6 separate regions of the Homo sapiens genome follow, and all the other regions are linked to region 5. The links are contacts of gene promoters, found by promoter capture Hi-C in blood cells and fetal thymus (Javierre and others, 2016). All regions are on one chromosome and are shown on one strand. Each heading gives the region's core, a stretch centred on a gene start or on the middle of the fragment in contact. The rest is flanking DNA. Distances are from core to core; before and after follow the strand shown. Region 1 overlaps POLR2K (RNA polymerase II, I and III subunit K). Region 2 overlaps UBR5-DT (UBR5 divergent transcript). Region 3 holds the start of UBR5 (ubiquitin protein ligase E3 component n-recognin 5). Region 4 has its middle 2.4 kb from the start of GASAL1. Region 5 holds the start of ZNF706 (zinc finger protein 706). Region 6 overlaps AZIN1 (antizyme inhibitor 1).

Evidence for each region. Contacts are between HindIII fragments. The CHiCAGO score rates a contact against its expected background, and 5 or more counts as called.
Region 1: a contact is called between a fragment that was not itself captured here and the fragment with the promoter of ZNF706 in region 5, in 1 of 17 cell types (neutrophils). The highest score is 5.5, in neutrophils.
Region 2: a fragment that was not itself captured here is called in contact with the fragment with the promoter of ZNF706 in region 5 in 1 of 17 cell types (erythroblasts); the score reaches 5.3 in erythroblasts.
Region 3: a contact is called between the fragment with the promoter of UBR5 here and the fragment with the promoter of ZNF706 in region 5, in 1 of 17 cell types (activated CD4 T cells). The highest score is 5.7, in activated CD4 T cells.
Region 4: a fragment that was not itself captured here is called in contact with the fragment with the promoter of ZNF706 in region 5 in 2 of 17 cell types (fetal thymus and total B cells); the score reaches 6.1 in fetal thymus.
Region 6: a fragment that was not itself captured here is called in contact with the fragment with the promoter of ZNF706 in region 5 in 1 of 17 cell types (total B cells); the score reaches 6.8 in total B cells.

What each region holds. Positions count from the first base shown.
Region 1 is chr8:100,151,113-100,155,513 of GRCh38, forward strand. POLR2K (RNA polymerase II, I and III subunit K) reads left to right here. Exons shown (of 4, transcript NM_005034.4): 2 at 235-304; 3 at 712-804; 4 at 2,182-2,891. The coding sequence starts at 244. The coding sequence ends at 2,204. Among named protein-coding and RNA genes, the nearest start is that of POLR2K, 2.7 kb to the left of the region's middle. The HindIII fragment of the contact is 3,247 bases long and covers 1,032-4,278 here.
Region 2 is chr8:102,243,980-102,248,857 of GRCh38, forward strand. UBR5-DT (UBR5 divergent transcript) reads left to right here. Exons shown (of 3, transcript NR_125415.1): 2 at 26-142. Among named protein-coding and RNA genes, the nearest start is that of UBR5-DT, 7.0 kb to the left of the region's middle. RefSeq lists an enhancer at 4,778-4,878. The HindIII fragment of the contact is 2,012 bases long and covers 965-2,976 here.
Region 3 is chr8:102,411,094-102,415,986 of GRCh38, forward strand. UBR5 (ubiquitin protein ligase E3 component n-recognin 5) reads right to left here and starts at 1,607. Exons shown (of 59, transcript NM_015902.6): 1 at 1,080-1,607. The coding sequence starts at 1,141. It overlaps LOC105375683 (a long non-coding RNA gene), which reads left to right and starts at 1,246. Exons shown (of 5, transcript NR_168428.1): 1 at 1,246-1,918. RefSeq lists enhancers at 1-777, 221-300, 778-1,556, 1,931-2,200, 2,762-2,871 and 1 more and silencers at 971-1,410, 1,471-1,550, 1,581-1,780. The HindIII fragment of the contact is 11,584 bases long and covers 1-4,893 here.
Region 4 is chr8:102,802,237-102,806,922 of GRCh38, forward strand. No RefSeq gene overlaps it. Among named protein-coding and RNA genes, the nearest start is that of GASAL1, 2.4 kb to the right of the region's middle. RefSeq lists a silencer at 4,221-4,686. The HindIII fragment of the contact is 976 bases long and covers 2,634-3,609 here.
Region 5 is chr8:101,202,297-101,207,255 of GRCh38, forward strand. ZNF706 (zinc finger protein 706) reads right to left here and starts at 3,377. Exons shown (of 4, transcript NM_016096.5): 1 at 3,139-3,377. RefSeq lists silencers at 2,912-3,511, 3,722-3,941. The HindIII fragment of the contact is 4,829 bases long and covers 1,585-4,959 here.
Region 6 is chr8:102,824,319-102,829,053 of GRCh38, forward strand. AZIN1 (antizyme inhibitor 1) reads right to left here. Exons shown (of 12, transcript NM_148174.4): 12 at 1,990-4,360. The coding sequence ends at 4,249. Among named protein-coding and RNA genes, the nearest start is that of GASAL1, 20 kb to the left of the region's middle. The HindIII fragment of the contact is 4,292 bases long and covers 1-4,204 here.

The sequences.
Region 1 (4,401 bases), core at 1,405-3,904, 1.1 Mb before region 5:
TTGTTATGAAGATTATAATGGCCTAACACGTATGAAGTAGTTATTATGTCCAGTTTGGGGTAAACGCTCAATACTTGTGTGTATGCGTTTCGTCCTTGAGACCTAACCCATAGGATTTGGGGAAAGGAACAGATTAGGAATTGGATCTTTGTAGCTTTTCCTGAGAAAAATGGGCCCGGATGGACTTGTGAGAAGCCCTTTTGAGATATTCAGTATTTGAGTCTGTGATTTCAGGGGCTAACAATGGACACCCAGAAGGACGTTCAACCTCCAAAGCAGCAACCAATGATATATATCTGTGGAGGTAAGAGTAGCACTTACCTAAAGTAAGAATATTTTATTTAAGTTTTTTTGAAATTGTTACATTTATTCTTTGCTTAAATGAGTTACTGGTCTTCAGAGTTATAAAGTAGAACACTTTAGCAACCATAAAAAAAATCGTTGAGGTCAGTAGACCTGGGTTCGTCCTTGGTCTTCTGTTTACTAACAGAAAAAAACAAAGCTCGTTGAGATTTCATTCTCTCTCCTGGAAATATGCATGGCCTACAACCTTTTTCTTTCCTATTTAATATATTTAATAAAAGCAGCAGACCCTTGAGATTGAGTATATTTTAGTGTTTTGGATTGCCTTAGGTAAATAATACATTTAAGATAATTTGTCTGTAATATTTTCCTCTTAGGCATTGAGTAAATTTTTTTTTTTAATTCTAGAGTGTCACACAGAAAATGAAATAAAATCTAGGGATCCAATCAGATGCAGAGAATGTGGATACAGAATAATGTACAAGAAAAGGACTAAAAGATGTATCCTTTTAACGATGCTTTCTAAATATGAGTTAGGAGGAAATGAATAATGCTGGGGTTGATAAAGATTAATTTCTGGTTAAAATGATAACTTTCTGGATTACAGTACTTAAAAAACAAACATGATTAGCATTTTCATGGACCAATGCATAGGCTCTAAATAATCTAAATAATGCTAGTTGATTTTGGTTCTCATAAATTTATTTTTTAGGGATTCTGTGCAGTCAAGCTTGAGGATAGGGATACATTCTGAGAATTGTGTCCTTAAGCAATTTCATCATTCCTACAGAAACCTAGACCGTATATCCTACTATACATACACATCTAGGCTATATGGTATAGCTTATTGCTGCTAGGCTACACACCTGTACAGCATGCTATTGTACTGAATAGACAATTGTAACACAATGTTTTTGTATATCTGAACATAGAAAAGGTACAGCAAAAATAGAGTATAATCTTATGCGACCACTGTTTATATGTGCTCCATCTTTGACCAAAACGTCATTATGGGTGCATGACTACATTTATATAAGTATTCATTCTTGAGCTTCAGTTTATGGACAAGCTAAAGTTCACGAGGAGAAATACAAATATTGTGTATACTACCTAATGGAAAAAGTTGGGCATACAAATTGTTCAAATACTGAGAGTAGGCCCAGCATGGTTGCTCACACCTATAATCCCAGCACTTTGGGAGGCTGCAGGAGTTCAAGACCAGCCTGGGCAACATAGTGTGACCCCCATGTGGAAAAATAAAATACAGAGTAAATTGTTATGATACAACTAACACACATTGTAAATCGACGGATTATCCGCTTTAACATTACTTTAGTGTTTTTTTTTGTTTGTTTTTTGTTTTTTTTTGAGACGGAGTCTCGCTCTGTCACCCAGGCTGGTGTGCAGTGACGCAATCTCGGCTCACATTGCAAGCTCTGCCTTCCGGGTTCATGGCATTCTCCTGCCTCAGCCTCCTGAGTAGCTGGGACTACAGGCACCCGCCACCATGCCCGGCTAATTTTTTTTATTTTTTAGTAAAGATGGGGTTTCACCATGTTAGCCAGGATGGTCTCGATCTCCTGACCTCGTGATCCGCCCACCTCAGCCTCCCAAAGTACTGGGATTACAGGCGTGAGCCACTGCGCCTGGCCTGCTTTAGTGTTTTTTGATACATTTTATGGAAAAGGTGGTAATAAAAATTGAAAGTGTTTTTAGTTTATTTAAAAACCAGTTGTCATAGTAAATAGTGAATTCCATTCTTTTTTGCATTTTAAGTTAAATAACAAACCAGCTTATTGCAAAGAGAAAGTGACTTTGAAACCTTCAGTCTTAATAATGTTTAAGTACCGTTTTTGTCCTTAACTCAAATTAATACAGTGGTCGTTTTTGATGCTCGATGAATGCTGGGAATTCAGAGGAATGTCTTCACTTATACTTGGATTTGCTCTCTTCCCATTTCTGATTGTTGTATAGCTTTCGATTTTGCTTACAGTAGTTCCCCCTTATCTTCGGGAGATACATTCCAAGGCCCCCAGTGAACTCCTGAAACCTCAAACAGTACCAAACCTTTATACACTGTTTTTTCCATATATATATACCTATGATAAAGTATAATGTATAAATTAAGCATAGCAAGAGATTAATAATAATGTAATAGAACAATGATAACATACTATAATAAAAGTTATGTGAATGTGGTTGGTCTCTCTTGCTTTCAAAATATCTTCTTGTACAGTACTCACCTATTTTAGAATGTGGTTGACTACAGGTAACCAAAACCACAGAAAGGGAAACTTTGGATGAGGGGGGCACTACTGTACTTAGGAATACAACTATATACATATGATTTTATTTTTAAGACCATATTATATTTGGGTATCTACTAATATTTTGTATAAAGCAATTTTTTGTTCCATTACGTGACTTTTTGTTTTATTGTATATGTAATTTAACACACAATAAAGGGTAAAGTTGCTTCCCCAAACCACACTTTTAATCAAAACCTAGAATCATCTGCAGTCCTTGTTAAAAATGCAGGTTTCTAGAACCCTCTGAAGTTCTGATTAAATAAATTTATTGCAAACCACTGTCCTGTGTCACTGTGTCATTTGATATGAAGTATACCATTGTGCTTGGTGTCAGTATGCATATGTCATCTTGAGTTCAGTTTTTCATTTATTACTAGGTATAGGCCTTTCTGTATTTTCATATAATGCTTGGTTCTCTTTTAAATCTCAGAATAATGAAGGGAAACTTTAATTGTTTTCTGTAAGGCAAAATCAACCCCAAGCAAAGTGAATGAAGCAGGCTGTTAAGCCAAGTGCAGTTTCCAAGGTGTAATCACTCATTAAGGTCAACAGTTCTGCTTTTAGGATATAAAAAGAACAGGCAGTGACTCGGGAGGCTGAGATGGGAGGATCACTTGAACCCAAGAGTTTGAGGCTGCAGTGAGCCATAATCATGCTGCTGCACTCCAGCCTGATGGACAGTGCAACACCCTGAGTCAAGGGCTGGGGAGGGGAGCGTTGGTTTACACTGAATTATTGGATAAATGTTTAAGTCTTCAGCCTTGATCTTTGGGATGTAGAATTAATGGTCACACTTATACGCTATTCTGTTCAAGGATTCCATGGTTGTGGAATGTCATGTTGGCCAGCCTGATGTGCATTTTAAAGATTAGATGTATTCCAACTTTATTAATAGTTATGTCTGTCTTTGACATTCAAAATATTGTCCATAATACTTTGTTAAAAAAAACCCTGCATTTTTACCACCATCTTCATATATTAAATTCTATAAATTTATTACATGCTATATGAAATACTTCCATGCTCAGATTTTTGTTTTGTTTTGTTTTTTTAAGACCGGGTCTCCCTCTGTTGTCCAGACTGGAGTGCAGTGGCATGATCATAGCTCACTACAGCCTCCATCTCCCAGGCTTACACAATCTTCTCACCTCAGCTTCCTGAATAGCTGGGACTGCAAGCACACACCACCATGCTGGCTGATTATTTTGATTTTTAGTAGAGATGAAGTCTCACTACATTGCCCAGGCTGGCAATGAAATTGAGCTTTCATAATTTTATAATTTTAGTATATTCCTTCTTGAACTTTTTAGATATGGGAGTCTCAATACATGGTATTTCTTTATGACAGTTCCCTAAACAGATAAATCCCCAACTTATGGGATAATATACTTCTCTTAACTCTTCTCATTTTAGACTAAGTCCTTTGCATATCAGTAGTTTAATTGAATATTGTTATCTGGTTAACTGGGCAGAATAACTTCATGCAAAATGTATTACAGCTGGAACTCAGACTGCTTTCAGTCAGCCACTTTTTGTGCTCCCTTCATGTATAAACTAGATGTAATTTTACCTCTTACCTACCTAGACAGTTTCAAGGAAAAAACTGATATAAAATTGCTTTTAAAACATTCTTTTGACTAGTGCTCTGTCAATATGAAAATTAGTAAGCTTGAGCTTGATGTTAGCACATCACTTGGTACCCTGTAAACTGCTTACTGACTGCACACACTGAAAAGCACATCCTTGTCCATGGGAAAAGCACTGAATGGAGATTTGTTCAAATTCAGCC
Region 2 (4,878 bases), core at 721-3,220, 1.0 Mb after region 5:
TTGTTTGTTTGTTTGTTTGAGACAGAGTCTCGCTCGGGCACCAGGCTGGAGTGCAGTGGCACGGTCTCGGCTTACTACAACCTCCGCCTTCCGGATTCAAGTGATTCTGCTGCCTCAGCCTCCCGAATAGCTGGGATTACAGGCGAGTACCACCACATCCAGCTAATTTTTTTAATTTTTAGTAGAGACGGGGTTTCACCGTGTTAGCAAGGATCATCTTGATCTCTTGACCTCGTGATTCACCTGCCTCGGCCTCCCAAAGTGCTGACATTACAGGCGTGAGCCACGGCACCCGGCTATTAATACTAACTTCTAACAAATAGGATACAGTCAAGTGCCATGTAACATTTTGGTCAATGATAGACCCCATATATGGTGGTGGTCCTATAAGATTATAATGGAGCTGAAAAGTTCCTATCATAGTGACGTTATAGTCATAGCACAACACATTACTCATGTGTTTGTGTTGATGCTACTGTAAACAAATCTGCCAGTGTGTAAAGTATAGCTTATATAATTATGTACACTACATAATACTTGATAGTGATAATCTATATTACTGATTTATGTATTTACTATAGTTATCATTATTTTAGTGTATACTCCTTCTAATTATATATATAAAAAAATCAGTAACTGTAAAATAGCTTCAGGCAGGTCCTTCAGGAGGTATTCCAGAAGAAGGTATGGCTATCATAGGAAATGACAGCTTCATGTATTTATTGCCCCTGGAGACCTTCCAGTGGGACAAGATGTGGAGGTGGAAAACAGTAATATTGATGATCCTGACCCTGTGTAGGCACAGACTAATGCATGTGTGTGTCTTAGTTTTTAACAAAAAAAGTTCAAAAAGTAAATTATTTTAAAAAATAGGAAAGAGTTTATAGAATAAGAATATAAAGAAAGAAAATTTTGTGCAGCTATGCACTGTTTTAAGCTAAGTGTTATTACAAAAGAGTCAAAAAGCTTTAAAAATTTAAAACGTTTTTGAAATACAGTTACAGTAAGGTAAGGCTAATTTATTGAAGAAAGAAAAATATTTTTCATAAGTTTCTTGTAGCCTAAGTATGCAGTATTTATGGCATCTACAGTAGTGTGTAGTAATACTCTAAACCTTCACATTCACTCACTGACTGACTCACTTAAAGCAACTTCCAGTCCTGCAATCTCCATTCATGGTAACTGCCCTATACAAGTGTGCCTTTTTAAAAAAACCTTTTATATCATATTTTTACTGTACCTTTTCTATGTTTAGATACACAAATACAATTGTGTTTCAGTTGCCTACAATATTCAGTACAGTAACATGCTGTACAAGTTTGTAGCTTAGGAGCAATACCACATACAGCCTAGGTGTATAGTAGGCATTACCATCTAGGTTTGTGTAAATACACTCTATGATGTTTGCACAACAATGAAATAATCTAATGACACATTTCTCAGAACATATTCCTGTTGTTAAGTGATGCATGACTTTTAAGCCTCATTCATTAAGGACACTACAGATAGCTTTGGTGTTGTCTCTCTTTTGGGCACTTTCCTTGGGAGCTTAGGTACCATGCTAAAGGAAGCCAAAAACTAGCTCACACAGAGAGACTACATGGGAAGTCCACATGGAAAGCAACTGAAGCACCAGCCAACAGCTAGCATCAACCTCCAGATGTGTGAATGAATGAGCCTTCAGAGGAATCCAACTCCTAGCTGTCATGCCTTCCAGTTGAAAACCCCAGAAATTATGGAGCAGGAAAAACACCATCTTGGGTTCTGTGCAAATTCCTAACCCACAGAATCCACGAGCCTAACAAATGGTTGTTTTAAGCCACCAATTTTGGGATAATTTGTTATGCAGCCATAGTAACTGGTCCAGCATCCATTCCACTTAGAGATTTGTGTGGTGATCGCCTAGGAAGACAAGCTAGCCTTTTGTATAGAAAATATGTAATTTCAAGCTATTGCTGTCTTATTGTATGTCATTTACTGGGTAAATCCTCATTTCTCAAACTTGATGTCTCAACACCCCTGCCCTTTTTTTTTTTTTTTTTTGAGACAGAGTCTTGACTCTGTCGCCCAGGCTGGAGTGCAGTGACATGATCTCGGCTCACTGCTGTCTCTGCATCCCAGGTACAAGGGGTTCTCCTGCCTCAGCCTCCTGAGTAGCTGAGCCTACAGGCACACACCACCATGTCCAGCTAATTTTTGTATTTTTGTAGAGATGGAGTTTCACCATGTTGGCCATGCTGGTCTCAAATTCTTGACCTCAAGTGATCCGCCTGCCCTGGCCTCCCAAAGTGCTGGGATTACAGGTGTGAGCCACCGTGCCTGGCCTCAACCCCTTTTAAATAAAAAAATTTTCACAGCCACTTTGATATTGACTTAAACTACATATGTATTGTTACTTAAGTATGTACAAACCTAAGACCAGTAATAAACTCCTTATTCTTGGAGCTTTACACAACTAAAAGTAGATCTATAAATTAAATACAAACAAGACTATAGAAATGGTAAAATTCCAGTTTACAACCAAAAGCAATGGATGATGATGTTGCTTTGCTGAAACTATATTGCATCAGTGTGAATTTTATAGTGACCATTAATGAAGCATGTTTTTTTGCATCGTAGCCATGGGATAACTTTTTCTACAACTCTTTTTATCAGTTGCCTTTCATAAGGAACAAATGTGTCATTTACATATTTAATTCCATTCTTTAAGTTTTTATGTATTATTTGACATCAGTGCCATCATAAATGGTCAACCAGGTAATTCAAGATACTGCATATATATATTAAGAATCAAAATAAGATGCTTGTGGAAAATTGGCAGATCCTGAACCCTAGTTTGAAAATCACTAAACAGGTCTATATTTAATGAGCCATTCATTTATAATTCAGGAAGGCCTCCAGTGTGAAGGAAGGTGAAAATTTTGGAATTAGATTGGTTTAGAGCTAGTTGGAATAGGCCCAGTACAGGATAAAGCAAGCTTGAAATAAGGCAGTGGTGGTGGGGAATGCAAGAAGAATCCGTGCATGTGAGTTAAGTAAATGTACTCAAGATGACTTGATCAGTGGTTGGATATGGAGTGTAGGGTAGAGGGAGGATTCTAGGATGACTACAAGTTTTTTTTTTTTGTTTGTTTGTTTTTTTTGAGATAGAGTTTCGTTCTTGTTGCCCAGGCTGGAGTATAATGGCACGATCTCGGCTCACTGCAACCTCCGCCTCCTGAGTTCAAGCGATTGTCCTGCCTCAGCCTCTCAAGTAGCTGGGATTACAGGCATGCGCCACCATGCCTGGCTAATTTTTGTATTTTTAGTAGAGACTAGTTTCTCCATGTTGGTCATGCTGGTCTCGAATTCTCAGCCTCAGGTGATCTGCCTGCCTCAGCCTCCCAAAGTGGTGGGATTACAGGCGTGAGCCACTGCGCCCAGCAATGACTACAAGTTTCTAATCCAGAGACTAGGCAGTTAGCAGTGCCTTTTGCCCATGAAGTCTTAGTAGGAAAATAGTGAGTTGTTTTGGACATGTCAAGATCATGATTCTCATGAGATCCAACTGGGGGTTTCTAGTAATGTGGTTCAGAACTGATTGGCTCAGCCATTGATCTGATCCAGCTGTGACAACCTGAAAGCCATACTTAGCAACCCGTCACATTAATAGTAAGTAAAGCAGTTTTTGCAAAAGAATCAACAAGCAATATAGATTTTTTCTAAAAAATTTCGAGTTCAGTACAAAGAACATTTTCCCTCTTAACTGTTTCAGAATAAGTTGCTATGTCTAGGCTAAATGCAGAAGAAAAGAAGTGAGACAACTTTCTTTTACTCGTAAGTGTGAGAGCATTGGAAGGACAGGAGTTTTGGGTCATAGAGTTGGATAATAAGACAACATTTCAAAGGTGCAGAGTTCCAGGTGAGATAAAAACAACAGATTACAATAGTATGTTCCTAAATTGGATTGAAGTTGGTCATTTGAATCCATTCAATAAATTTAACATTCTACCAGGCACTGGAGAGAAAAAGGTAATTGAGACAGAGTTCCTACACTAAAGGAACTTACAGAGTAGAAGGGAAAATCAAGCAGATACATTGTTCAGACGGAGTACAAAGAAAGTAAAACAGCTTTGTCAAGGTGGAGGGTGGAGGGCAGGTCAAGGAGAGCACCTCAAAGAGGTGGGTAAACCGGATTCTGAATTATGAATAGGAACTAACCATTCCAAGATGAGGGGCCATAAAGAGTGGGCAGTAAGGTCAGAGGGAGCAAGTATTTATACAGGCTCCAAGGCGATAGAGGTCATAACCCACCAGGGGACTGCAAGTCTTTCAGTATAACAAGATAGTAAGTAAATATAAGGCTGTAAAGCAAGATCCAATCATGAAGGGCCTTGTTGAGTTTGAACTTCATCTTACATAGCCATCCGTGGAAAGTCAGTGTATTTTAAACAGGTGAGTGAGTAAAATGGTTAATATGCATTTTAGAACTTGTTCTGCCTCTACATATTAAAGGGAGCAAAACAATAAACAGAAACTGGTTAGTAAGCTATTGACATAATCTAGGTAGAAGGTGGTGACAAAGTTAGGTAATGATAGTGGATGTGGAGAGAAGTAGATTAACTCAAGAGTTCAATATATAGTAACTGTAGGGCTTGATGGTTAATATGAATGTTAGGGGTAAAGAGGGAATTGAATGATTCCGTTTCTGACATGGGAACTATATAATTTACTGATTCATAAATGATTTTTGACCAGGCATTGTGGTACACACTGGGCTTAAGAGAAGTGAACAAGGATAGAGTTTCTGATAGCCTCTGCTATTATTGTGTAGGGTCACTAGGGGAAGTCAGACAATGAGCACATAAACTAGTTTCAGATAGCACATGGATGGACCAA
Region 3 (4,893 bases), core at 357-2,856, 1.2 Mb after region 5:
TGCGGCACTGCAATTCAATATCCTAAACTGGCAAGGAACGGTGGCGGAAGAAAAGGAGAAATCCAAACCAAAACAGCCTATAAAAGACAAAACATAAAATAAAATCATAATTCATCCTCCGCCCATAGCAAACCCAACCCAGAAATTTACAGCGTGTTAAGAAAAGCAGCATTGCGAACTGCAAACGTAAGAGTTTTCCTTTGACACTCTACGCACGGTTTTCAGCTGTCAAATTACAACTCAGGAAAACACTATCATTAGAATAGAAAAGGAAACAAAAAAGCTCGCACCACAGGGGCTAGTAGCAGGAGCTGCCAGCACCATTTCAGGAGGAGAGTAAAGGGAATCCAATGCACTTCCCCACCCCCGCTTGAATCCATCCCCTCCCGGGGCAGGCAAACCTCACTGCAGGGGCTCAAATTTAATAATAATAACAATAATCATGGCGCTTCCTCCCTCACTCCCTCCCCCAACTATCACCTTCCCCCCACCCCCCGCCCGCTCCCAGCAATCTGCCGGGAATCGGCTTCTCTCCCCAACCCGACCCCGGGATCCCCAGGTCCAGACCACCCCACCGGACACAGCTGCCGGGGGCCCGGGACAAGCCCAGCCCAGCCCACCCCGGGGCCCCTGGCCCCGCTTCTCCTCTTCCCTCTCTTTTTACCTCCACCATCCCCCATCCGCATTGTCTGTCTCAATTCAACTTTGACTAATATGGATTCCTCGGGCCTTGGCCGGGCAGTAATTACCGCCTGCCCCCCGGGAGCCAGAAACCACCCCCCCATCTCCGCCGAGTTCAACGCCGCTCCTTGCGGGAGGGGGAAGGGGGTTTACAGAGCGCTCTCCAGTCTACACCGCGAGTCCCGTCTACACCGCGCTCCCCCCGCGGCCCCCTGCCCCCGGGATGAGAAGTTTGCCCCGGAAGGAGCCTAGCAGGAGGCAGTAAGGACCCCCGCACCCCACCCCAGCTGGCCGGCCGGCGCGTAAACACCCGCACCCGCCCGGCACGGCCCGTGGGGGAGGGGAGGGAGGGAAGGGCGCCCCTCCCCCCGCGCCCGCCGACCCGCCAGCCCTATTACCTGTCATTGAGCTGGTCCTCGGTGCCCGGCAGCGGGTGAACCACGAAATGGATGGACGTCATGGTGCTTTCCTTCTCGTCCTCCACTCGAGGGCGGCCCCCTCCCGCTCTCGCCCGCCCCCCAGCCCTCTACCCCTCCCCAAAACCCACAGCCGCCGCCGCCTCCCAGTCCCCAAATGGAGGGAAGCAAATACGCAGGGGCCGCCGCCGCCTCCCTGCCGGGCGTGTGTCCGCGGCCCGGAGGGGCGGGCAGGAGGGCGAATCCACACGCCACCCGCTCCCCCGGCGACAGCGCGGAGTGCGAGGCAGGCGGCCGGGACCAGGGGCGCGCCGCCGGCCAGCGGCAGACGGGCGTTGGGAGAGGGGCGGCCGGGGGAGGAGAGGGGCGGCTGCTGGCTGCGGGCTACGGGGACGGTCTGGTCCCGGCGGCGGACGGGGTCCGGACTAGGGGAGGTGAGGAAGGAGGGGAAGGAGATGAGCCCGCACCGCGCGTCACTAGCGAGAAGCTGCCGCCGCCATCTTCACTTCTGCCCCAGTTTCTCCGTCTCGCAGGCTCCGCTCCGGAGCGGCGGGGGAGGGGCAAACGGGAGGAGGAGGAGGGAGGAGACCGGCGGGCGGGGGCGCGGCGGCGAGAGGCGGGGCTCCGGGAAACGGGCGGCAAGGCCCCCTCGATTGGGCTGCTCAACGTTGTCGGGCCACGACGCTGTAAGGCGCGTGCCGATTGGTCCGTTCGGCTCCCGAGCCCAGCCCCGCCGGGGGTGGGATGTCTCCAGAGTGAGTGTTCCGGAGAGCACGTGTTAGGGAAGGAGGAGGCTGCGGGCTAACCTGCCGGGAGGGAGGGTAAGTGTGTGTCCCAGAGGAGGCGAGGAGGAAGAGGGGCTCTTGTGTTCTTTCGCTCGGATTCCCCTGGGGCAGCCCTAATTATTTGGCGGATCCTTAGGGGTTTCTTGTTGCTTCTCATCCTTCATCCGCAGTTGTATTTATGGTGAAGTTGGTAAAATCAGTTAAGGGGCAAGACATATACAGCCTTTTATTGGAAAAGTAAGGAAATTATGTAAGGGCCTTTCCAGAAGGAGATAGTAGGATCCTGGAGTTGGCTTTGCAGCAACTTCTATTACCTCGGTCTCCCCAGTTTCCTCACCACCATCACATGCCCAAAGACAAAATGTGGAAATTTCCACTAATTTCCTGATATAAATGATTCGTGATTTTTTATTACTTTTAAATGAAAGATGATAAACCTGTTCTACAAAGGAGTTCAATTTATGATCAGTGGAATCAGAACGGAAAATTATTATTTTTTTTTTTTTTTTCCCCGAGACGGAGTTTCGCTCTTGTTGCCCAGGCTGGAGTGCAATGGCGCGGTCTCGGCTCACCTCAACCTCCGCCTCCCGGGTTCAAGCGATTTTCCTGTCTCAGTCTATGGAGTAGCTGGGATTACAGGCATGTGTCACCACGTCCGGCTAATTTTGTATTTCTTTTTTAGTAGAGATGTGGTTTCACCATGTTGGCCAGGCTGGTCTCGAACTCCTGACCTCAGGTGATCCACCCGCCTCGGCCTCCCAAAGTGCTGGGATTACAGGCCTGAGCCACCACGCCTGGCCGAGATAGGATCTTTTATACCGAGTTTCTACTATAAGACACTTTCAGAGTTTTGGCCACGGCGCACAGTGGCTCACGCCTGTAATCCCAGCACTTTGGAAGGCCGAGGATGTCGGATCACCTGAGGTTGGGAGTTCGAGACCAGCCTAGCCAACTTGGTGAAACCCCATCTCTACTAAAAATGCAAAAATTAGCCAGGCATGGCTGTGCGCGCCTGTAAACCCCACTACTCAGGAAGCTGAGGCAGAAGACTTGCTTGAACCTGGCAAGTTGCAGTGAGCTGAGATCATGCCACTGCACTCCAGCCCGGGCAACAGAACGAGACTCCATCTCAAAAAAAAATTTTTTTTAATCAAATAAGTCTGTTTTTTTTTCCCTAAGGAACCAATTCATGACTTTCTTCTCAAAGGTTTCTATGACCTCCTTTAAAAAATAAAGTACCTCTTCGAAGGCAAAAACTGAGAACATGACATTCCTTCTACAGAGGTGGTCTGTTAATGAATTACACACACACACACACAGTTTTGCTTAGGAAGTTCTTCTGAGCAAAATTTATGAAAAAATACTTACAAATCAGGACAGACCTGGTACCCTCAAGGCAGATAATGGAACACTTTTGTAGGTTACCAGCTCAACCATTGGCCCAGATTAGTTTAGACTAAAAAGTGATTTCAAGGTCACTATTAGATGTCCCTGGGAGCCCTGAGGAAGGAAGGTAGACCAGTAGACACTGCTAGATTTCAAGCCAAACAGATCTAAAAAAAATTTTTTTTTTTTGAGACGGAGTCTTTGCTCTGTCGCCCAGGCTGGAGTGCAATGGCACGATCTTGGCTCACTGCCACCTCCGCCTCCTGGGTTCAAGTGATTCTCCTGCCTCAGCCTCCCGAGTAGCTGGGATTACAGGCGCTGCCACCATGCCTGGGTAATTTTTGTATTTTTAGTAGAGACAAGGTTTCACCATGTTGGCCAGGTTGGTCTCGAACTCCTGACCTCAGGTGATCCACCCACCTCGGCCTCCCAAAGTGTTGGGATTACAGGCGTGAGCCACTGCGCCCAGCCCAGATCTAAATTTCAGTTGTTTCTGCTACTTAACTACGTGGCCTTACTTGGATTTAGATTAGTTAGATTTGGCCGGGTGCACTGGCTCACGCCCATAATCCCAGCACTTTGGGAGGCCGAGGTGGGTGGATCACCTGAGGTCAGGAGTTTGAGACCAGCCTGGCCAACATGGTGAAACCCTGTCTCTACTAAAAATACAAAAATTAGCCAGGAGTGTTGGTGTGGCTGTAGTCCCAGCTACTCCAGAGGCTGAGGCAGGAGAATTGCTTGCTCGAACCCGGGAGGTGGAGGTTGCAGTGAGCCAAGATTGTGCCACTGCACTCCAGCCTGGGCGACAGAATGAGAATCTGTCTTAAAAAAAAATTAGTTAGATTTAACCTATCATTGCATCTTTTTTCCTCATTTGTTAAATATTCCATACTAATAGATCTATCTACACAGAGTTGCAGTGAGATCTAAATAAGATAATGTATGTCAGACACCTAGGACAGTTCATATACATAGTAGGCTCAGCAAATGGAAACATTTACTTGTCTGGTGCTATGTTCCAGTTTTTTTTTTTGTTTTTGTTTTTGTTTTTGTTTTTTTGAGGCAGGATTTCACTCCCATCACCCAGGCTGGAGTGCAGTGACATGGCCTCGGCTCACTGCAACCTCCACCTAGCAGGCTCAAGCAATTCTCCTGCACTGGCCTCCCGAGTAGCTGGGTCTACAGGCACAGGCTACCACGCCTGGCTAATTTTTGTATTTTTTGTAAAGGCGGGGTTTTGCCATGTTGCTCAGGCTGGTCTTGATCTCCTGGGCTCAAGCGATCGACCCACCTCGGCCTCCCATCTATGTTCAACTTTTACACCTTATACCTTTTAATACTTGAATCACACTATAGGGTAAATTATAATATCCCTGTTATCTAGATGAGGACACTGGGGCTCAAACACCTGAGGTAAGGACTGAAGCTGATACTGAAACCCCGGTCTTCTGACTTGGATTCCATTGTTCTTTCCACTATACCACTGCTGCCATCTAGAAGTTAATAATTTAGAAGGAACAGACTATTCAAAGCCAATAGAGAAAAAAATTATATGATAAATGGAAGAAGAGTAATGTGGAGGTTGAAGGAGGAAGTGATTCCAGCCAAGAGAATTAAGAAAAGTC
Region 4 (4,686 bases), core at 1,872-4,371, 1.6 Mb after region 5:
AAAACAAAACCACAAGAAAAAAATCAGTGACATTCTTCACAGAAACAGAAAAAATAATCCTAAAATTTATATGGAACCACAAAAGACCCAGAAGAGCTAAAGCCATCACAAGCAAAAAGAATAAAACTGGAGGAATCACATTACTTGACTTCAAATTATACTACAGAGCTATAGTAACCAAAATAGGCACAGAACTGGCATAAAAATAAACACATAGACCAATGGAACAGAATAGAGAATCCAGAAACAAATCCATACACCTACGGTGAACTCATTTTTTATAAAAGTGCCAAGAACATACATTGGGGGAAAGGACAGTCTCTTCAATAAGCGGTGCTGGGAAACCAATATCCACATGCAGAAGAATGAAACTGACCCCTACCTCACCATATATAAAAATCAAATCAAAATGGATTAAATACTTAAATCTAAGACCTCAAACTATGAAACTACTAAAGGAAAACACTGGGGCAACTCTCCAGGACATTGGTCTGGGCAAAGATTTCCTGAGCAAATACCCCAAAAGCACAGGCAAACAAAGGGAAAATGGATAAAAGAGATCACATCAAGTTAAAAAACCTTCTGCACAGCAAACAAAATAATCAACAAAGTGAAGAGACAACCCACAAAGTGGAAGAAAATATTTGCAAACTACTCATCTGACAAGAAATTAATAATCAAAATATATAAGTAGCTCAAACAACTCAACAGGAAAAAAATCTAATAATCCAAATTTTAAAATGGGGAAAATATCTGAATAGAAGTTTCTGAAGAGAGGACATACAAATGGCAAACAGACATATAAAAAGGTGCTTAACATCATTGATCATCAGAGAAATGCAAATCAAAACTACAATGAGTTGTCATATCTCAATCCAGTTAAAATGGTTTTTTTCAAAAGATGGGCAATAATTAATGCTGGCGAGGATGTGGAAAAAAGGGAACCCTCATACACTTTTGGTAAGAATGTGAACTAATATAGCTGCTATGGAGAACAGTATGGAAGTTCCTCAAAAAACTAAAAATAGAACTATTATATGATCCAGCAATTCTACTACTAGGTATGTCAAAGAGATATCTGTACTCTTATGTTTAAAATTCACAACAGCCAAGATTTGGAAGCAACCTAAGTGTCCACCAATAGATGTATGGATAAAGAAAATGTCGTACATATGGGCCAGGCACGGTGGCTCACATCTGTAATCCCAGCACTTTGGGAGGCCAAGGTGGGTGGATCACGAGGTCAGGAGTTCAAGACCAGCCTGGCCAAGATGGTGAAACCCCAACTCTACTAATAATACAAAAATTACCTGGGTGTGGTGGCACATGCCTGTAATCCCAGCTACTCAGGAGGCTGAGGCAGGAGAATCACTTGAACCCAGGGGCAGAGGTTGCAGTGAGCCAAGATTGCGTCACTGCACTCCAGCCTGGGCAACAGAGCAAGACTCTGTCTCAAAAAAAAAAAAAAAAAAAAAGATTAAAACAATTGAACTCATGGAGACAGAGAGTAGTAGAAGGATGGTTACCAGAATGGTAGGTGGGCCAGGGATGAGGGGGAGTGAGGATGGTTAATGGATATAAAAACGTAGCTACACGGAAGGAATAAAATCGAGTACTTGGTAGCACAACAGGATGACTACAGTCAATAATAATTTATCATACATGTAAAAATAACTAAAAGAAGGCCGGATGTGGTGGCTCACACCTGTAATCCCAGCACTTTGGGAGGCTGAGGCAGGCAGGCAGATCACTTGAGGCTAGGAGTTTGAGATCAGCCTGGCCAACATGTGGAAACCCCGTCTCTACTAAAAATACAAAAAATGAGAGGCCAAGGCGGGCAGATCACGAGGTCAAGAGAACACCCACATTGTGAAACCTGTGTCTACTAAAAATACAAAAAAAATAGCTGGGCGTGATGGTGCGCACCTGTAGCCCCAGCTAGTCCAGAGGCTGAGGCAGGAGAATCACCTGAACCCAGAAGGCAGAGGCTGCAGTGAGACAAGATCATGCCACTGCACTCCAGCCTAGGTGACAGAGTAAGACTCTGTCTCAAACAAAACAAAACAAGCAAACAAACAAAAACTACTAAAAGAGTATGATTGGAATATTTGTAACACAGAACAGATTAAATGCTTGAGGTGATGAATACTCCACTTACCCTGATATGATTATTATGTATTGTATGTTTATACCAAAATAGCTCATGTACCCCATAAACATACACACCTACTATGTACCCATAAATTTAAAAAAATCTAGAAAATGATCAAATCTAAAATCTAAGCTAATTTCTATTTGAACTAAGAAAAATTGTTTTCCTTAAAAAAAAAAAAAAACGCAGATAGGGTCAAAACCCAAGATGAGGCTGTCTTGGAAGCAGAGACAGCACACAGGAAGCCCCATCAGACACAAAGGAAGCCTATGAGACCAAACGTGGGGGCAGAAGACAGAAGAGCCGACAGCTCATTTGTTTCCCTGGGAGTTCCACTAACGAGTGGCAAGGATGGAGTGCTTGCCTCCCAGTGGGCTGCTGGGTGGAGAGGAAAGCCGAATAAAGCAAAGCCTCTCAAAGCAGGCAAAGCATGGTAAAGGCTGTAGTGGAAGTGCCAAGGGTCAAGTTAACTCATGAGAAAAGCTTCATAAAGGTGGCAATCCAGCTGGGCCCAAGCCAAAAGCGTAAGTAATCAGAATTAGAAACGGTGGAGGAGTCAACCCCTACTGAGACAGTTCGGGTTCTCAGCCTGAAGGAAAATGTGGAAGTTGGAGGTTGTGGAGTTTGTGGCTTAAGCCACAGCCCCCTCCTACACCTGGCCTTAGCTCCCAGGATACCTGCCCCCCACTGGGCCAGGCCACGGACTTCCCAAAGGGCAACCACATAAAGCACAGGACCTTCCACCACTCACACTTTCCAGACCTATCCCTGGCCACTATTTCTTCCCTCTGATGTCACAGGGCTCTGCATCTTGTCCCACCTCAGCAAAATTAGACCCCCTGGTTTCCCAAGAGATGTCATTTTTAACTCTTTTCTACAGGCGCCTGGAGCACAGGGCTTCCCAGAAGTCTGATTCAATGCTATTTTGAGCTGGGTTAGATTGGCAGAAATGAACCACCCACCCTTGGAAAAGTCACACTTGGGAAAAGACTGCCCCAGCAGAGGTGGACTGGGAGCTCTTTCTCAGCATGAGTTTGAATGGGGGTCATATGGAGCAAGGAGACGCTCACATAGTTTCTGCAAAGCTGTGCTGACAAATAGCTCTGGACAGATCCAGACCGGTTCTGTTCACCCAGCTGTTATGCCGCTTCTGCCTGCAAGATGAGAAAGACACCTCCCCTTCCCAGGTTGGCATCATTTATTGAACCATGGCTTTGGAAAGAACAACAAGTTCAAATCCCGGAAAGAAGCTGAGCGTGAATTCCAGCCGGAGGCCCACCAATGACAGCCCTGTCTTGCTATCCTGGGGGGCATGGCATGGGTGGGCGGGGTGCGATGGGGTGGAGGGAAGGAAATCCAAGCACCTGTGGATGCTTACTGCCTTACTCTGTCCTCCTGGCTCCACGTCACCCTTCCTTCCTGCCTGACGTGATCAGGGAAATCTGCGGGGTTAAAGAAGCTTCTAGAAGCCACTTAGTCCCCCTGCAGGTAGATGCTTTTTTTAAGGGTCTCTTGCTCACTTTGAGCATTCTAGAACCACAGATGCAGCCTCTCAGAGTGGTTACCCAGCACCAACTCAGGGGCAGACCATAGTGCCCAGCCTTGTTACAGCGAGGAAGGTGACTCTCAATGGACTGGGGCTCTTGAATTCCTTTACCCTCAGACATACATCCTTCCAACCCCATCATCCCACGATGGTGACAGGGTCTGTGGTCAAGGGAGGGGGTCAGGTTAGGTCAGTGCAGTTCTTCAAGTCGGACCCCAAGCAGGCAGCACCAGTCCCCAAGAGTAGGGCTCGGCCAGAGCTGCTCCCATCAAAGGGAACTGGGTGGGGCCCTGTTATCCAGACACAAATATCTGCTGGGCCCCTGGGACCCAGGGTGTCCAAAGGTGGTTCTTTTCCTCCCTCAGAAACTTGGCCCAGGGCCTTTCCCAGCAAGTGCCTCCCCCTCCTCCCGCCCTCGGGTTCCCTTCCCAGCCACCCACTCAGTGAGGGCTTCAGCACGTGGCTGTGTGGGGCGGCGGGTTTCCTCTCCGCCCCGGCAGCTCTGCAGAGGGTGGTTTTCGCCCTCTCTTCTCCCCCATCCCCCGTGACTTCTTGTAAAAGGCTCCGGCGTCCCCACCCACCTCCGCCCTCCCGCGGCTGCCAGACCGGTGCCCGCCCCCGCCTCCCCCGGAGGCCGCGCTCTCTCCCCGCCCCTGGCAGCGGGCTCTGCTTCGGAAACTGTTGACTCAGAGGGTGGCCGGGCGGCCAGCGTCTGATGTCAGCCTGGAGCTGGGCCAGGGAGTGCAGGGCGGGCGGCGCTGGGAGCGAGGGAGGAAGGGTGCGGGGCCGGGCCGGGCTGGGTGGGCGCCCGCGGCAGGCGTAGGGGCTGCGCTCGGCGCTCCCGGCTGCGCGCTCGGCCTCGGCGGCGGCCCGGGCGCCCGTGACTCAGGGTGCGTCACCGGAGCAGATGCCCGGGGCGGTTGGAGGCTCCCGGGCTCCCGCTGACTCATCAGAAAGGCCTGCCGCGCGGCCCGGGGGGCGGGGGAAC
Region 5 (4,959 bases), core at 2,127-4,626:
AAAAAAAAAAAATTAGGCAGGCATGGTGGTAGGCACCTGTAATTCCAGCTACTTGGGAGGCTGAGGTGGAGAATTGCTTGAATCCGGGAGGCAGAGGTTGCAGTGACGCGTGATGGCACCACTGCACTGCAGCCTGGGCGACAGTGAGACTCTGGTCTCAAAAATAAATAAACAAACACACAAACAAAAAATTGTTACAAGTAACAACTTGGTTGTATCTCAATGTTAAAGGAAAGAAGCCAGTTGTGGGGAATATACATTATTTAAAGTTCAAAACAGGCAAAGCTAATCTATAGTGAAAGGGGTCACCTTGGGGGTTATGGGTAATGACTGGGAAGACAGGACATGAAGGGGACTTATGGGGTCCTGAAAATGTTCTTGAATCAAGTGTGTTTACTTATAAAAATTCATTGAATTGTACACTCAAGATTTATGCACTTTACTGTATGTAATCTTCACAAGTTTACTAAAAAAGTTTAGCCCCCGCTATCATTTACTTGATCACTCTGCAAAAGTAATTTCCCTTCCCAGTATTCATTGTGACTTGCGATTGTGATTTTTATAACTTTAAGAGAAATAAAAGCTGTCTGTTACTCCTTCTAAAGGAGACCTCAGAAATAGGTGGAAACTGTTTTCTTACTTAGTTTTCATAAAACTACTGTTATTAATTTTTTTAAAAAGTTGGTCTTGCTGGATTGCTGAACAAATTATAAAATGAGATTATCAGCAAGCCACTAATTCCAGAAGTTTCTTTGCTCTCTAGACGTTAGTTCCCATTTGAGGGAATGAACTTGGTTAAGAGGGTTCTTTTACAAAGCTGAAAGATACCACTTTTTGTTACCGATGATCTGACGTGAACCCAAATGGATTAAAACAAAAAAAAAAATCAAGTCACTGAAAAAAGTTACTTTTACTTTTCCATTTAAATTAAAGGCTTTTATTCGACCACACAAGTTAAACCTGCTCATAAAGTCTATCATGAGTCTCAATTGCTTTTTAAATATATCAAAATTGGATCCTAAGTAGAATTCATATATATATAGTTTTGACTAGTACTGTAACTGAATGTAAATCATTGCAGGACAGGAACATACAATGGATTTGTATCAACTTCACCAGGGAAGGGTGCTAGCTTCTTCTGACTAGGACCATAATTAGTTAATGGATATGAGGTCAAAGCATTTCATAAAAATTACTGAGCTCCTCCTGTTCCCCAAAAAAGGAAACTAAAAAAATACACTGATTGGAGAAGTTCCCACTAGCATTAAAAAAATGAACTGAAAGTCAGATAAAATATAAAAGAGGGTCAATGCTTTTCAGGATAGTCAGCTGACTATTTCAACTGAGGAAATATGGGGTTTTTATATTAGGGTAGCACACGAGCCTAATACATTTTCGTAATTGAAAATGTTTAGCGTGCTAGCCTAATATGAGAACCCCATTCCCACCAAACAATGGTAAATATTACCAGCTGTTATCAGTCCTTGAAGACTAAGCTTCCATTTTTGCTTTAAAAAAAATTATTAATTCTAAGCCAAATGGCACATTTTTTTTAAAAGTGTATTTAAGTCCGATGTTACCGCAAGCTTACAAACCTATTCCCATGGAAACAGGTTTGGATACTTATGTATTATTTGGACGACAGTAGTCACGTGATCAGCCTTTATGTATACCAATGTTTTGCAAGGTTTTTTGTCTCAATGTCTTACTATCAGGACCTTGTAACAAAATAGCCAGTCTTCTCACACATCTTAACTCTTCGACACAATGTATTTTATGTATCTTAATACACTGATTTTGTGGGAAATCTTGTTTTATGTTAAAAAAAATCTTCAAAAATGGTAAGCCACTAATTTCAGAAGTTCCTTTGCTTTCTAGAAGTTACTAGCTATTTTGATATTTCCATGTTGTGACTCGTACAAAGCAATGTCATTAGACACACAAAATTATTTTTAACTTTTGCACTTAGGACTTTCCCTAAAATATAACATTACACAATAGATTCAACCCATTTTCCATTGTCACCAAACAGCAACCAAAAAGACCGAAGAGACTTAATAAAGACAGTAGTCACTTGTTCTTATTCTGAAGACAGAAAACTTAACACCAGGTAAAGGAAATGGAATAAAATAAGCTAAATGCATGAGGTAGGCCCCTAACTTCTGACAACACGCCCCATCGATTTCCTTTCTGAAAGCAGAAATTCAAACGAACCAACCACCTGCTTTTGGACAGCTCAACTTAGGACTTGCTCTCAAGCCAACACAATTTTCTACAAAATCGTAGGCAGCTACAACCGCTCCTTGATTAAATGCGACAAACTGGAGGGAAAAAGTCACTTACAAATACCTACATGCTGGTTTTTAATGCAACTCTCAGTGTGGTTTTCCGAGGGGGCTGCAAAGAGGGAAGTAGTGGAAGAAACGAGTTCTAAAATGAGGCGCTCTCGTAGGAGGCAACAAGTAAGCTCTGCCCCAAAGCTCCTTTTAAAACCAACATAAATGAGTAACAGAAGAAAAGGATTTTGGGTCCAGGAAGTAGGCTCATTCTCCATAACCATCGGAAAGGAAGAGGCCCAGGCAGCGCTCCACATCCTGACCCTAGCTTTTAACACCATCGTTTTGGGGAGAGGAGAGGAGGAACGCACCCACAGTGAGGTCTCCACCCAACACTTCTCCGACCCCAGCTTCAGCCTGGCGCACCTTCCTTCCCAAACCCGCCTCTCCCGCCTCGGAGACCCCCTCCTCCTCCCTGCCACCAAAGGCCACGCAGCCCCCATCTAGCCAGTCCTCACGGACCCTGGACCAAGACGCGCCTCCTGGAGGCCGAGACTGCCCGAAACCCGGCCCCTGCGTCCACCGGGAGCGCCACACTCTGGCAGCTGACCGGCGGCTGTCGCCGGGGGTAAGGTTACCGCTCCGCTTCCGCGGCTGGCCTGCGACCCGGCCACCTGCAGGGCCTGGCAGGCGCCCGAACTCATCCCCTTCCCGCGGCCCGCCCCGGGCCGGGCCCTGCCGCCCCCCGCGACCCCTCGCGACCCGCGGCGAGTCCCACGGTCCCCACCGCCCCCCGCTGGCCGGCCCCCGCCCCGTTTCCCGGGCGTCCCGCGGCGTCAGCACCGCCCCCGCTGCCGCTCACCCGGGCCGGGACAGTCTTGCGTCGGAGAGACAGTGCAGCGCGAGAGGGCCGGGAGAGGACGCCGGAGGGAAAGGAAGGGGGAGCGCGCCCAGCACCGCTTGGGCCTCCTCCACCCGCTCAGGAGGGGAAACACGAGAGCCGGGAGCACAACAGCCTCGCACGCCCGCCGCCGCCGCGCGCCCGCCGCCGCCTCAGCCTTAGGGGAGACCACTACGCCTCGTGCCCGCGCACGCCGCGCCGCTCTCCTCGGCGCCCCCGCCCCGCCTGCTCCTCGCAGCCCCGCCCATGTGCCTTTCTGCGGCTGCCTCCTTCTGGCCCCCACCCCGCTCGCACGCCTGCGCCCTGGCTGGTCGCGCGGGCCAATGGCAGCGCGCCCCTATTACATAAGCGCGAGGGGGCGGGCCCTGGCTGACACAAACTTCAGGGGACGTCGCCTTCTGTCCCCAGGCGCCCCTCCTCTCCGGCGCGCTCGGTCCGGGCGGCTTCTTCACCCAGCCCTGGGAGCCACGTGATCCCGGTCCTGGTTGGTGACCGGGCCGCGGCGTGTTTCACAAGTCGCTCGCTCGCTCATCCACTCGGGCGGCGGCCGGGCCTCAGGCGCTGCGACCCTTTTCCCGCTCCTCCCAGGCTGACGCGCCCGTCTCGGCGCCGCCCTCCTCGGCACCGACTGAGGCGCTGGCCCGGGAGCGGATCGCGGGGCCGCGGTGGCTGAGTCACATTCCCGGAGCCCCGCCACCCAGGACACCGCGGCCCCGGCCCCCAGCGAGCCCGGCGGACCCAGCGGCTCTGAACGCGGACGCACAGCCTTTGTTCTTTCACAGCCGCCCTTTACCTCACTCCCATGGAAACCCCAGGTGTTTTCCCAAGCTGGGGGCTTTTAGTGAGTTCAAGATTCAAGCCTAAGTCGTATTAAAAATTGCTGGCTAGGCCGGGCGCGGTGGCTCACGCCTGTAATCTCAGCGCTTTGGGAGCCCAAGGCAGGAGGATCACTTGAGCCCAGGAGTTCCAGACCAGCCTGAGTACATAGCGAGACCCACGTCTCCACAAAAATAAAATAAAATAAAATAAATAGTGGAGCATGGTGGCCCGCGCCTGTAGTCCCAGCTACTCGGGAGGCTGAGGTGGGAGAATCGCTTGAGGCCGGGAGGTGAAGGTTGCGGTAAGCCGAGATCGCGCCATTGCACTCCATCCTGGGCGACTGAGTGAGACCCTGCCTAAAAAAAAAAAAAAACAAAAAAAGAAAAAAAAATTGCTGGCCAGGCTTCCCGGAGGGGTTTAGTTTGACTGCTAACAATATACGGTACTGAGTTGCTAATCCTTCGGGGAATGGTTAAAGTTCTTTGCGCGCGCTCTCTCTCCATTTACAGGCAGTGGCAGCAAACTTTCAATATCTGACAAGAGCAATGGCGATTATAACCATGATTAAAATTGCTGAATATCTGGAAACAGTACTTTAGACATCAGCTTTATTGTGCATACTTACCCCCGACCCCCGCCACATTCGTTTCTAATTAGAACTACTAGTGACAAAGGAGAAAAAAAAAAAGTGTTTGCATTGGCTGTTCTCACCTTGCCTGTAGTGCCGTTTCCCAAGTTTGCGTGGCAGTGCCCAGGAAATGTTGGCTGAATATTAGTATATCCCAAATGACTTGGACTGGGCTATAGATACCACAGAATTGTTTAAACTAGCCAGGAAGGAGTTAGCTGCCTATTGCATTTGAGTGGAGAAAAATACGAAATGAAACATGGCATGCAGTGATCCGGGTGTTCAGTTCTCCCTCTTCATCCTCATTTCAGCTTCTCTCACCTTCACTTTTTATG
Region 6 (4,735 bases), core at 809-3,308, 1.6 Mb after region 5:
AGTCACATTGCCTTTTGAGTCTAGGTGGTTTGTGTTCCACTCCTTTCTGGGTGAAGACATGCACTATGATTTAGAAGATATGTGTAGTAGAGGCCATCTGTATGCAAAGAGAAAAGTTTCTCCGGATGTCTGAGTAGGAACTGAGACTTTTCAGGTTAGCTTTAACTTAATGCAAATGCCAGTAAAGACCAGAACTAGTTCGTTGCTTGTTCCTAGGCCAGGTTTATCCTCATTATGAAAGCCTGCTGCCGTAATTACTTGCATCACACCTTTTTCCTCTCAGGATGGATGCGATTCATAGGATTTACTCACAACTCAAATGTAGAAGACTAATTTTTGTTTTACATTTTGATTCCTGCCAATTTAAGTTTCTACTATTACTGTGTTTCTTTTCTTTTTTTGAGATGGAGTCTTGCTCTGTCACCCAGGCTGGAGTGCGGTGGTGCAATCTCCACTCACTGCAACTTCTGCCTCTCAGGTTCAAGCAATTCTCCTGCCTCAGCCTCGAGTAGCTGGCACAGGTGTGCGCCACCATGCCTGGCTAATTTTTGTATTTTTAGTAGAGATGGCATTTCACCATGTTGGCCAGGCTGGTCTCAAACTCCTGACTTCAGGTGATCTGCCTGCCTCAGCCTCCTGAATTGTTGGGATTACAGGCGTGAGCCACTGTGCCTGGCCTGTGCTTTAATACTATAAGGTTACATTAAAATTAAATCAACTAAAAGGCAGCAATACAAAACCTTCTCTGATGCCCAACCAAAAGTCCAACTTACAAGGACAAAAGAGAATGGTCAAGTACATGCTAAAGAGATCTTAATACCAAGCTATCAACCACTGGCAGTATCTGCCATTTGCATCCATGTGCCAGGCACTTTCAAGGCCTGGTAAGGTTAAGTTCTAGTGTCTTCATCCTACAGACAAGAAACCAAGGCCCAGAGCAACTTGTCCAAATCAGTATAATCAATCTAATAGGTAATAAGGGTCGTTTATTGAGCCCTGTGTGCCAGCCAGTTCTAAGCACCTTGTAACTGTTACATCCTTATAACCTTATGAAGCTGCTACTTTTACTACCATCATTTTCTTTCTTTTCTTATTAGAGATAGGGTCTTACTTTGTTGCCCAGGCTGGAGTGCAGTGGTGTGATCGCGGCTCACTGCAGCCTCCACCTCTTGGGCCCAAGCAATCCTCCCACCTTGGCCTTTTGAGTAGCTGGGACTACCAGCTAATTTTGAATTTTTTTGGAGAGACACAGGTCTCCCTACATTGCCCAGGCTAGTCTTGAACTCCTGAGCTCAAGCAATCCTCTCACCTCAACCTTCCAAAGTGCTGGCATTTACGAGCATAAACCACTGTGCCTGGCCTTACCACGATTTTCCATCTGGGAAAACCGAAGCACAAAAGGGTTAGGTGACTAGCCTATGTTCATACAGACAGTAAATGGCAGAGGCAGGATTTGAGTCAAGCAGACTGGAGGCAAGGTCTACACCTTTAACCACCACCCTATACTAGTGCATTGCCTGAATAATTAAGTAAATCTTTGAATTTAAAGTTACTCCCCAAAATATTAAGTCACCCAGTTAACTAAAGTGTTCAAAGAACAAAGAGATGATGCTTTTCATTTCAGCAGAGTTCAGAAGACTTCTTAAGGCCAAGACAGGTTAGGAAACTAAAATATATACTCTAAAAAGAAGAAAAAAGGAATTAAGCAATGTGTGGCTTCTCTAACCCAGTATTTCCATTTAATGGTATTAATGCCCATATTTACTTGGAATAAATCTAGCTTAATTTGTCAATCTATTCATTTAGTCCGGGTTTTAAATTGTTAGGAGGCTAGTGAACTGAAGTGTCTAGAAAAGGCTGTCCTGGAAACAGTGCTCACATATATACTGGACTTTACCAAAATTTCACTGTTCTATATATAACTTCCAGCATTTTTTAGCAGAATCAATTTTCTTTCTAATAAAGCAAGATTGTTAATACACATAAAGCTGATATGTAAAATTTTACCTCTATTTCAGATAGAAGCCAAAGTAAAACATGAGGAATAAAAACATTTATCTATGTATTCAGAATCACACACAAGTTACCTTTACAGTTCAATTTACTATATAGAAATCATTGGGTTTTATATTTGCAGTTAACTTTTGAACTGAGATTACAATATTATAACAAAAAACTTTACATTAATTCAGAACTTTTTAGCATACCAAATTGAAATACATAGGTTCAAATTTCAGATTTATGGCAAACAGTCTTCAAATACAATACAGACATTTCTTAAAAGTTACCGTATCATTCACATGTGATATTTGCAACTCTGAGCTATTTCTTATAGAACAGCTCTCCTGCAGATATGGCAAAGTTGATATGCCATGAAGTTCAAGGCCTGTATAGTCAAGCCAAGGACTCAAAGTTGCACCATCTTTAAAAAGGTTTGGCATTTCTGGACCACAACAATGCACAACATGTAAAGAAGGTAGGAAACAGTTCCCCCTCCTTGTTAAATGGTTAAAAAAAGTTACATGGTAGCTTGGAATTTTGCATAAAACCCCATAATATACCTTGGAAAAGTCCAAGGGCAATTTGATGGCAATGGATTGGGGCCCTATATATATATATTTTTAATAGAACCCATGAGATTTAAATGGGCATTAATCAAATCAAAAAATATTAAGCACCTACTGGTTTAAGAGATTTAAATTTATTAGAGATTCATGATCAATTTCTTTCCACCTCGAAATCAAGGTGTAAAAACCAGCTATTAAGTGCATTCCAAACTTCTCCTATGTAGCACAGGTAGAATTTTCTGTCCATTGGCACCAAAGTGAAGTCACATTTCCTCTTGGGAGACAGAAATTCCACACCTGAACACAGAGTAAGTTAGGAAAAAATGACCCCTGTTGTTTATTACTATTGTGATTCTGAGATCTAGGATTTCTAATATACTAGCAGTAAACAAAGCAAATTCCTGGCAACAACTGTCAGGTTAGTGATGCTAACTCCCTTCCCCCAACCACCATAAAATTTTAGTAAGAAAAGAATTAAAAGTAATGACTAAGCAGAACAAATTGGAAATAACAAGAAACTAAGGGGACAGTTCAAACCAACAACAAAAAATCCTAAATTTGAAATCACTGCAACTGAAGATAATAAGTGTGCTTCACCCCAACCCCCATCCCAACTCTGAATTTAAACATTCCGTGCAAAAGAGCAACAGGTTTCTGGATAAAGATGTAGCCCTTCTTTAAGTTTTAGTGCTCTGCAGTTTTCTGCAATTTTATTTCCCTCCCCCCAAGTTTATTCAAAGTATTTAACAGAATCTTCCATTTCAGCCAAAAGATTGTGATTCAAAGATTTACTAAGGTACTCTATGCATTCTATCTATACAGAAACACCTATTTATTATTACAGTTGATTTATGCAGGATTAACATTTTTGGTGTTAAAATTGTTAAACATCATGCTTACTGCACATCAACTCTCCATAATGAATCTGAACTTCACAATGATTTACCAAACACTTTACTTAAATTACTAATTAAATAAATGAAAAATGCACCGAGCCAAACAAAACTTAACTGGGCTATAAAGAAAAAAACCCTTCAAAACAGTCCATATACACATCTATTTCAAAACTACCTTTGCTAGCTAGCCCCTTTCCCAAAGTTTTAGCCTGAAAAAACAGTAAAATCTACACAAAATTTTATTGCAATCATACAAGGGTTACATTAGGTCAACAAATACTATGATGCAATTTTACATTTATTAAACTACAGTTCAAAGCACAAATTTACACATTCTAAATACACTAAACGTTATCTAATGAAGTCACACTGGTCTTCTAACATTTGATATATCTGGGTGAAAGACATGAACTTTACAAGACTTTAAACACAAATCCTTAGTATAAAAACTGTGTTCTTGTATGTAAACGATTTAATGGGGAACCCAATTAATGGGCTTCCATCTCCACTAAGTCATCCATTTTGTTGCATATTTTATTTTAAACGCTTAAGGGGTAGGACAAACTGGTAGGTTTAAATCTGGATACATTATCTAAATCTCCCATTATCCCCAATGAATTATAGATGAAAGCTGATTTTGTCTGGTCCCAAATAGCTATTACTAATAGTTTTTGTTGCCAAAAGAATTAAGAGAATAAGATTGTTTAAATTATTTTTCCACACTGGAATGTTGACCAGACAAGCTTAACCTGCAACTTCAGATCTAAAGAAGCGTTAATGCCTGTTTAAGCTTCAGCGGAAAAGCTGTCTTCTTGGCTCAGCTGAATGCAAGAAGGCACAAAGAAGAAGTTCTTCATCATTGAGTCTGAAGTAATTCCAGCATCTTGCATCTCATACCTACGTAGAAAAAAAATCAGCTAAATTCTCAGTTTAAGCCCAAAGACCACGTAATCACATAACAAATGGATAATAAAACAGGATTATAACTAGTCTTCCAAAAACCTTTAAAAGATCATCATTTTTCTATGATAGTCATGCACTGCAGAGTGATGTTTTGGTCAAAGACTACACATATGACTGTGGTATACCGTAAAATTACAGTGAAGTTTAAAAAGTCCTATCACCTCGTTACATCGCAGCAATCATGTCATAGCACAATGTATTATCCTTTCTATGTTTAAGTAACTTAAGATACACAAACGCCACTGCATTACAACTGCCAACAGTATTAAACAGAGTAACATGCTGTACAGGTTTGTAGCCTAGGATCAA